Linked DNA regions of Homo sapiens: region 1 is linked to region 2. The links are contacts of gene promoters, found by promoter capture Hi-C in blood cells and fetal thymus (Javierre and others, 2016). All regions are on one chromosome and are shown on one strand. Each heading gives the region's core, a stretch centred on a gene start or on the middle of the fragment in contact. The rest is flanking DNA. Distances are from core to core; before and after follow the strand shown. Region 1 overlaps DOT1L (DOT1 like histone lysine methyltransferase). Region 2 holds the start of LSM7 (LSM7 homolog, U6 small nuclear RNA and mRNA degradation associated).

Region 1 (4,485 bases), core at 419-2,918, 140 kb before region 2:
CGCATGACCAGGGCCTTCCCTTGCCTTTTTCAGCTTCGAGAGCATGCAGAGGCTCTGCGACAAGTACAACCGTGCCATCGACAGCATCCACCAGCTGGTAGGTGGCTTGCCCCTGCCCAGAGGGGGTTAGTAGTGCCAGGCTCCCGGACCCCTCCAGACCCCTTATGTCACCGCCTCGGGGCACAGAGCTCCCCTTAGAGCCCCTGGGGATTGGAATGTGCAGCGTGGGGGGACGATGGGCTGTGGGTGAGTGGTGTGGGGGCTGCCGAGGCTGGGCTGTGTGCTGTGGCCGTGTGCCAAAGCAGAGCCGTCCGTGGTTTGTGTGCTGAGGCAGGGCCCTGAGGGTTGTGGTGTCTGCACACGCCTCTGCAGCCCTGGGTTGGTGTCCGCAGGTCCCAGCAGAGGCGGGGTCCCTGTCCTCCCCGGGCTGTGTGAATGCCGGCCTTCCCCCTTGGACCTCCCCCACACCGCCTGCCTTCATCAGGCTGGATGCCGGCCTGGGCTGCACCCTTGGGCACCCCGGTCCTGCTGTGTCTCGTGAGGCTTTCCTCACAGAGGACGGGGCACACAGTGAGCTGGGGTGTAGCAGGGAGGGGAACGTGCTGCTTCCCATGTTCTAGAAAGCACCGGGGGCCCCTGGTGCATGGGGGTAGGGGAGCTCTTTCTTGAAGGTCTTGCTGTGGAGGGAGCCCTGGTGGGGGTGGCATGGGCTCACTTGGCCCTCCTGAGTGGGACTGGGCTGGGCTGGGCTGCCCCATCAGCCTGCCACCCGGCTCTGGCTTCCCCTCAACCTCATGCATGCAGCTCTGTGGGCCCCTGAGAGCTGAGCTGGCCTGGGCGAGAGGGGACCACCTCAGCCTGCTGCAGCTGGTGGGGAGGAAGGCGGGGTCCCACGTAGTCGAGTCAGATGAGGTGTGGTAGGCTCAGGGCTTTCACGGGGCTCGTGGCACCTGACGGGGGTCCCTTGGTGTCAGCGCCCCACCCTGCTGCCTTGGCCCAGAGGAGGGGTGGTGGTCTTGGTGGCCTGTGTGGTTTTGGTGGTCTTGCCAGTGGGGAGAGAGGCCCGTGGCAGGAGGTGGAGCCTCCTAGGACCCCTCTGAGTTGGGGCCTGTCCCTGGGGATGCTGCTTTACTGCTTGTAGGAAATGGGGCTGGGTTGGAAACTGACCTGGGAGCCCGGCAGCCACCCTGCAGGGGGACGAGAGGCCATGCAGCCGACTCCCTGCTTCCGCTGGGAAAGGTCCCGGGTCTTGGTGGTGGAGGGGCTGGGCCGTGAGGTTTATGTGACATGGCCGGGCCACCCTCCGTCCGCAGTGGAAGGGCACCACGCAGCCCATGAAGCTGAACACGCGGCCGTCCACTGGACTCCTGCGCCATATCCTGCAGCAGGTCTACAACCACTCGGTGACCGACCCCGAGAAGCTCAACAACTACGAGCCCTTCTCCCCCGAGGTGTACGGGGAGACCTCCTTCGACCTGGTGGCCCAGATGATTGATGAGATCAAGATGACCGACGACGACCTGTTTGTGGACTTGGGGAGCGGTGAGTGTCGCCCGCCATGCCCGGCTCCTGTGCACTTCCAGGCCACACGCTCTGTGCCTGCCCCATGCCTGCTTGGAGAAGAGTTTATCAGGGACTTGCGACGTTGGCGTGGACAGTGCTTCCTTCTCCCAGCGCCTCTGTCCCGCTGTGGGGCCGTTCCTTTCCCCAGCCCTGACCGGGCTCCACCCAGAGGGGAGAAATCGCAGGAACCCAGTGGCTCCCAGACCAGGCCCATCCTCCCAGGTGCCCGGAGACTCTGCTTTCGTCCTGCTTCCCACCAGCTGGGGAGCTAGACCTGTGCACCCTCTACTGCTCGCTCCCAGAAGCTGCCACTCGCTAGCCTGGGCCCCAGCCCGGGCCCCACCCACGGCTGCAGCCTGCCGCAGTCCTTCCCTGGGCACACCTGCTCCCTCCACAGCGGCTGGAAAGGTCCCCCGCGGAGGAAGACCCCAGGTCCCTGGGCTCCCGGAGGCCCTCGCGCCCTCCCTGCATCCCCAGTCTCCCTCGGCACCCCTGCGTCTGGGCCGTGCCCTGCCCCTCCCAGGTTGGGGCTCCCACCTGCTGGCATTCTTTCAGCCTCTGCCTGCACTCAGACTCTGCTTGTGAGGTGTCGTCTCCTCTCAACCACGGGCGGGGCTCCTTGAAACGAGGCCCTAGGTGTGTCTTCAGCAGCAGCGTGGCCTGGCTGAAGCACAGATGAGCGGCCCGTACACGAACAGCCTCAGTAGCCTGACGAATTCTTGATAGGACCACCCCATCCAGGCTGCAGGGCTGACGGGGCCACCCAAGGGTCAGACAGTGAAGGCCCCTTCTCCACAGTGTCTAGGCTGTCCCTGGGCTCCTTGGACCTCGATGGACATGTGAACCTTGTGCCTGCAGGCACGCGAGCCCCACGTCTGCCCCCTTTCCACAGTCCTGGCTTTGACGTGGGGAAGGGGCCCCAGGGGCAGGGACCAAGAGGACTTTGCACAGACTGGGTGTGGCAGCTCACGCCTGTCATCTTAGCACTTGGAAGGCTGAGATGGGAGGGTCACTTGAGGCTAGGAGTTCAAGACCAGGCTGGTCAGCATAGCAAGATCCCACTTCTGTTTATTTATTTAAATTTATTTTCAAATTTAAAAAATGCAATAAAAAGAATGTGTATCGTCTGGACGTGGTGGCTCACGCCTGTAATCCCAGCACTTTGGGAGGCCAAAGCAGGCGGATCTGAGCTCCTGAGGTCAGGAGTTCGAGACCAGCCTGGCCAACATGGTGAAACTTTCCCTCTACTAAAAGTACAAAAATCAGTTGGGTGTGGTGGCGCGCGCCTGTAATCCCAGCTACTTGGGAGGCTGAGGCAGGGGAATTGCTTGAACTTTGAAGGCGGAGGTTGTGGTGAGACGAGATCGCATCACGGCACTCCGGCCTGGGTGACAGAGTGAGACTCCGTCTCAAAAAAAAAAAAAAAAAAAATGGGGCATATCTGGCTGGGCTCTTTGGCTCCTGCCTGTAATCCCAATGCTTTGGAAGGCTGAGGTGGGAGGATCGCTTGAGCCCAAGAGGTTGAGGCTGCAGTGAGCCAGGATCACACCACTGCAGTCCAGCCTGGGTGACAGAATCAGACCCTGTCTCAAAAACAAAAAATTAAAAAGGCTTATATGTTTTAGATGATGACGGCCTAGCACTTGCTGGCCGGGCCCTGGCCCCCCGTCCCTGTGTGCTTCTCTTCCCACTGGTGTGGTGGCGGCGGTCTGTGCCCATTGTGGTCGCTCCATGGTTCATGCCCGTTCCCTGGAGCACAGAGCTGCCTAGCAGGGGAGGAGAGGTGGCTTGACACCCCCGGTGTGCGCCGCTGCCTCCACCCTCCTGACGCTGGCGTATCTGCAGCCCCTGTTCCCTCCTTCTCCCTTAGAGCCGGGTGTTGCTGGGTTGTGTGCTGATGCTGTGAAACCGCAGCGGCCGGGAGACTGTCCTGGCTGCGGGGGACCCCTCACTGCCTCTCCCACCCTACATTGAGCCTCAGTCAGATCCTGCTCATGAGCCTTCCTGGGGTGCCATAAGATTTTATCAGCCAGGTTGCTGTGTGTCTGTGTGCTGGTGACGTGGGGATAATTTGAGGTGGACGGCAGCCTTTCCAGACCTGCAAAGTCTTGGGCAGCCCTGTCTGTCTGAACAGTGAACATCACATAGGGCCCTGAGACTCAAAATGGATTCTGGTTTCGGGGGCCACCAAGTGATGTCCATGGATGACGCGTTGTGATGACCGTCCCCTCGTGGGGGCTCTGTCAGGGGCCTGGTCTCTGGGAAGGATCCTGAGTGACCTTGGAGCATCGGATATGTGTGGAGACTGTGGCCTCCCCTGTGGGTCTTCATGGCCGCATTCTTGTGGCCTCTGTCTCCGAGCCTAGCACGGCCTCCCGGGTGGCATCTGAGCGCTGTGTGGTATCTGATGGATCTCTCTGATCATAGGTGTGGGCCAGGTCGTGCTCCAGGTTGCTGCTGCCACCAACTGCAAACATCACTATGGCGTCGAGAAAGCAGACATCCCGGCCAAGTATGCGGAGGTGAGCGGATCTGAGGGCCAGGGTGTGTTGGAGGCAGGGGACCATCAGAGAAAGTGACGCCCTGGGTGCCTGCACCCCACTGCTGTGGGACTTCCGAGTCTGGGTGGCGTTCTTTCCAGGCCCAAGACGTCTTGGTTGCCTGCAGCGTGTGCCTGTGAATAGGGTGCCCGATCGCCCTCACGGCCCATTACAGGCCGGCCCTCCAGGCCTGTCCAAGCGCTGCAGGGGTGTCTCGGAGCCTGTTTCATGGCACGTGCCACTAGTGAGGCGAGAGGTGCTCAGCTCTACCTCGTGGCACAGCCCTCCGAGAAGCGGGGTGTTTTGGGTGGCCTGCCCAGGCAGGCGCATTGAGGCCCTGTTGCTCTGAGAGTTTGTTGTTGTTTTTTTTTGTTTTGTTTTG
Region 2 (4,343 bases), core at 98-2,597:
GAGAAAACATTTTATTCATATTCCTTTTTCTTTTTGTTTTGAGACGGAGTCTTGCCCTATCGCCAGGCTGGAGTGCGGTGGCACAATCTCGCCTCTGGGGTTCAAGCAATTCTCCTGCCTCAGCCCCCCGAGTAGCTGGGACTACAAGCGTGCGCCACCATGCCCAGCTAACTTTTTGTATTTTAGTAGAGACAGGGTTTCACCACGTAGGCCAGGATGGTCTTGATCTCCTGACCTCCTGATCTGCCTGCCTCGGCCTCCCAAAGTGTCAAGATTAAAGGCATGAGCCACTGTGCCTGGCCTCCTTTTTCTCTTTTGAGACTGGGCCTTGCTCTGTGGCCCAGGCTGGAGTGCAGTGGTGCGGTCATAGCTCACTGCAGCCTCAAACCCTAGGGTGAAGCCACCCTCCTGCTTCAGACTCCCAAATTGCTGGGATTACACACGTGAGCCGCCCCGTCCGGCTGGGGCACTGTGATTTTTAATAACTCTCATGCCACCCAGTTGTCTACAATCCAGGGACAAAGAGGTTTGGGTCCCCGTCTTACAAAAAAAAGAAACCAAAGATCCAAGAGGCTATTGAATAAGTGACGTGTTGTCTGACTGCTTACTTCCTGCTGAGAGCTGCCTCAATTACATTACATGCCTGTAACCATTCATTCTCACCACCCCCTGTGAAGTGGGTGGAGTTACCAGCCCCATTTGACAAATGAGGAAACGGAGGCTAGGAGAAGGCAGCTCACTTGCCCAGTCAAAAATGCTAGGCTGGGCATGGTGGCTCATGCCTGAAATCCCAGCAATTTAGGGGGCTGAGGCAGGCAGATCGCTTGAGGCCAGGAGTTTGAGACCATCCTGGCCAACATGGCCTCTCTACTAAAAATACAAATATTAGCCGGGCGTGGTGGTACACATTAATTCCAGCTACTCGGGAGGCTGAGGCACAAGAATCACTTGAACCTGGGAGGCGGAGGTTGCAGTGAGCTGAGATCGCACCACTGCACTCCAGCCCGGGTGACAGAGCGAGACTGCGTCTCAAAAAAAATAATGAAAATAAATAAAAGAGGTGCTTCCGCATGCGTCCTCATCATCTCTGTTGCTGGGTTTATTTGAAATTTTTAAAGAGGGGGTACCGACAGCGGGAGCCTCCTCACCTTCGCGGCCTCCCTGGAACTTTACCCGGATCGTCTTGTCGATGTACTTGGACAAGTCCAAGATGCTCTCCTTTTTCTTCTTCTCCTTATCCTGCGGGGAAAGCAGAGCGCATGAGACCTGGAGCGCGGCCCGAGCTCCACGCCCCCCGGCTCCAGATTCCGCCGCGCGCTCACCGCCATCTTGTCGCGCCGTGTGGCTCTTCGCAGGCACCGCCCCGCGCCCTTTGACCTCCCCCACGCGCATGCGCGGCGCATGCGTGGCCCGGGGTCTCGGGGCGTTGCTGGGAAACATCTGCCGTTGGTTGCGGCGGGCACCGGCCGACATGGCGGCAGCGGTGGCGGCTGCGCTGGCGCGGCTTTTGGCGGCCTTTCTGCTCCTCGCGGCCCAGGTGAGCGCGGCACCGGTCCCGACGGCACCGCGGGCTGCGGCCCTTCGGCCTCTCTGTCCCCGGGCTACGCGCAGGAACGACCCCGCTCGGCCCGTCTTGGGGGTCCAGCCTCGGGGATCCGCCGTCCCCGCGTTGTCGGCCGGCGGTGCCGGGGCTCGGCCGTGACCTTGCGGGTCTGTCCCCGGCTCCTCTCCTTTCCCCGCCTCGGAGGCCCTCCGCCGCTGCAGCGCCACTCACTTCCCACCGGGTCTGAAATTTGTGCCCCCTCCATCCTCCGGTTCTGCTTCTCCGTTTCGGGGTCTCCAGTTGCCGCCGGGGACGCCTCTCTCCGGCTCTGTGGCCTTGAGCAGGCGGCTGCCCACCCCTCTCCGAGCCTCAGTTTCCCCTTAGGCGGAACGGGCACGGTGCTAAGCTAACCTCACCCTAGGGGGTGCGGTGGGGGAACCCAGAGGCGTCCCGCGCGTCCCCCAGTAACTGGCAGCATCCTGGAGCGGCCAGGAGTCCAGCCCTGCACTGGGGTCGGATCCCCGCTCCATCTTTTACTCCGTGACCTTGGACGATGGAATTCGTGTGCAGAAGGAGGACCGACTATGGTGTGGATTCTGGAGGTTCTGTCCAGGGTGACCAGCGCCCAGGGCCAACAGGCCTTCATTATGTTCATTGTGTGTCATTTGATGTAAAGAGTGTCAGGTTCTAGTGGGGACAGTCTACGAGATCGCACTGTCATAACTGCATCTTTTATTTTCTTAATTCCAAATCTTCCCTCTCTCCTGAGTTCGGTGGCTCAGGCAATGGAACCTGGAGCAGCCCCACAAATGCAGCCCTTAACCTTCACTACCCCCTCAGAGTTCTCACTCTTAAGGCGTCGCCGCCACCTGGCTCCTCAGTCTCCACTCCTCCAGCCCCACCGCTATCCCTCTGCTGTGGCTGCCTTTGTCCACCACATCCCCAGTCCATCCTCGACACAGCAGGGGTGACCCTTTCAAAGTATGTCAGACCGTGTCGCATCCAGATGAGTGCGCCGTCCAGTTGTGACCTGGCTGCTGGGGAAGCCTGCAGCTCATTGCAGTCGCTTCACTCTCTAGTCTTTTCTCTTACCCTGAGATGCCCCTGGTCTCTGCAAGGCTGTCGGGCCCCCTCGGAAGCTTTCTGAGAACCCCAGTCCTACCCCCAGCTGCTCTGTCAGCCCCCTTTGGACTCCCCCCATTCTGCAGCCAGGCACCTAGAGCTCCCCAGACATTTGGAAGGAGGGGGAAAGCCAGAGGTGGAAGAAAGATCACAGAACTCTGTGGAGAGAGGGACTCAGTTTGCCTGGGAAGGCTTTTCCGAAGCAGATCTATTTTTTTTTTTTGAGACGGAGTCTCGCTCTGTCGCCCAGGCTGGAGTGCAGTGGCATGATCTAGGCTCACTGCAACCTCTGCCTCCCGGTTCAAGCAATTCTCCCACCTCAGCCTCCCGAATAGCTGGGATTACAGGTGCATGCCACCACTCCTGGCTAAATTTTTTTTTTTTTTTTTTTAGTAGAGACGAGGTTTCACCATGTTGGTCAGGCTGGTCTCGAACTTCAGACCTCAGGTGATCCACCTGCTTCGGCCACCCAAAGTGCTGGGATGACAGGCGTGAGCCACCGTGCCCGGCCCCGAGGCAGGTGTTCTGAATGATGAGTAGGAGTTTGCCGGGTCGGCAGGAGGGGAAGGGTGTTGGAAGCACCAGAAGCAGCATAAGCGGGGGCTGGGAGGTGTGAGAGCTGGCAGGTTATTTGGGGTTGGCAAGGGGTGGGCTGTGGCTGGAGTGTAGGGTGGAATAATGCTGGAAGGAAGGGTTTACACCCTGAAAGATGTCACCACCAAGGAGGCCCGGGGGGTGGGCCGTGGAGGGTTGCTGGAGCAGGGGCACAGAGGAGGGGGCAGTGGTGCGAGTGGCCCCAGGCAGAGAGTGAAGGCAGAGCATTCAGCCTCCTAGTCTGGATGACAGGTTGTCTGGTGGAAGCCAGGCCGTGGAAGGCGCTTGGTGCTGGGGTGCGTGGACTTTAACCTGGGCGGGCTGAGGAGTGTGAGCTTTATCCGGAGGGTGGGGAGTCAAAGGATGTGTCAGAGGGACGTGAGAGAGCAGGTGTTCCTGCCCCTTCCAGAACCCTGGTTGTAAATACACCCTGAGACGCCTGTCCCTGGAGGGGGGCAGTGCTTCGCGGCAGTGGAAATTTGAGTCCGATTGCCCAAGAATGAGACTTGCTCTCAGGGCAGGAGCCTGGTTGGTGACAGTCCTCAACTCGCTTGCTTGCTACCATTCTGTGACCCTGAGCAAGGAAGTCGACCTCCCCAGTGAGACACCTCCCTTCCCCCACCCCACGGAGCCCGCTCCTCAGCAGATCTGAGCTGGAGCTGGTGGCCCTGGCTGGACCCGGCCCGGCTCCTGGAACTCCTCAGTCTTCCCAGAAGGGAGGCTCTCCCCGCCTGGACTCACTGGCCTGTTTCAAAGGCCCTTGATGTGGATGCTTTCACAGTCACTTGGAAGCGGGGTTTCTAAGCCTAGTAGTTTCTGAACCTGTGTGCGGTTGCAAAGCGTTTGTGCTGCAATTGTGAAGGATTTGGAGGTCGAGGCTTGGGCTTTGAGCCTGTCCTTGTAGCCTGAGCTTTTTCTGCTCCTCCAAATTTCGGTGGGCCTGTCTAGAACTCAGGGCCCTCTTAGAGCTGTGGCCTTTGGAAGAATTGTTCCCCGTTCCTTTAACTCAGCAGGTGAGGAAACTCTTCCCGGTGAGATGCCGCGTTCTCTGGCCTTTGATAGAGGCACAGGCTTGTTTTTTTAA

What was found. Contacts are between HindIII fragments. The CHiCAGO score rates a contact against its expected background, and 5 or more counts as called.
Region 1: a fragment that was not itself captured here is called in contact with the fragment with the promoter of LSM7 in region 2 in 1 of 17 cell types (monocytes); the score reaches 5.3 in monocytes.

Annotation. Positions count from the first base shown.
Region 1 is chr19:2,189,699-2,194,183 of GRCh38, forward strand. DOT1L (DOT1 like histone lysine methyltransferase) reads left to right here. Exons shown (of 28, transcript NM_032482.3): 4 at 34-97; 5 at 1,314-1,542; 6 at 3,991-4,085. Among named protein-coding and RNA genes, the nearest start is that of DOT1L-AS1, 24 kb to the right of the region's middle. The HindIII fragment of the contact is 8,550 bases long and covers 1-4,485 here.
Region 2 is chr19:2,327,239-2,331,581 of GRCh38, forward strand. LSM7 (LSM7 homolog, U6 small nuclear RNA and mRNA degradation associated) reads right to left here and starts at 1,348. Exons shown (of 4, transcript NM_016199.3): 1 at 1,323-1,348; 2 at 1,149-1,239. The coding sequence starts at 1,328. SPPL2B (signal peptide peptidase like 2B) reads left to right here and starts at 1,446. Exons shown (of 15, transcript NM_152988.3): 1 at 1,446-1,537. The coding sequence starts at 1,472. RefSeq lists silencers at 353-452, 1,473-1,732 and enhancers at 723-782, 1,063-1,717, 1,153-1,202, 1,213-1,262. The HindIII fragment of the contact is 4,029 bases long and covers 1-2,680 here.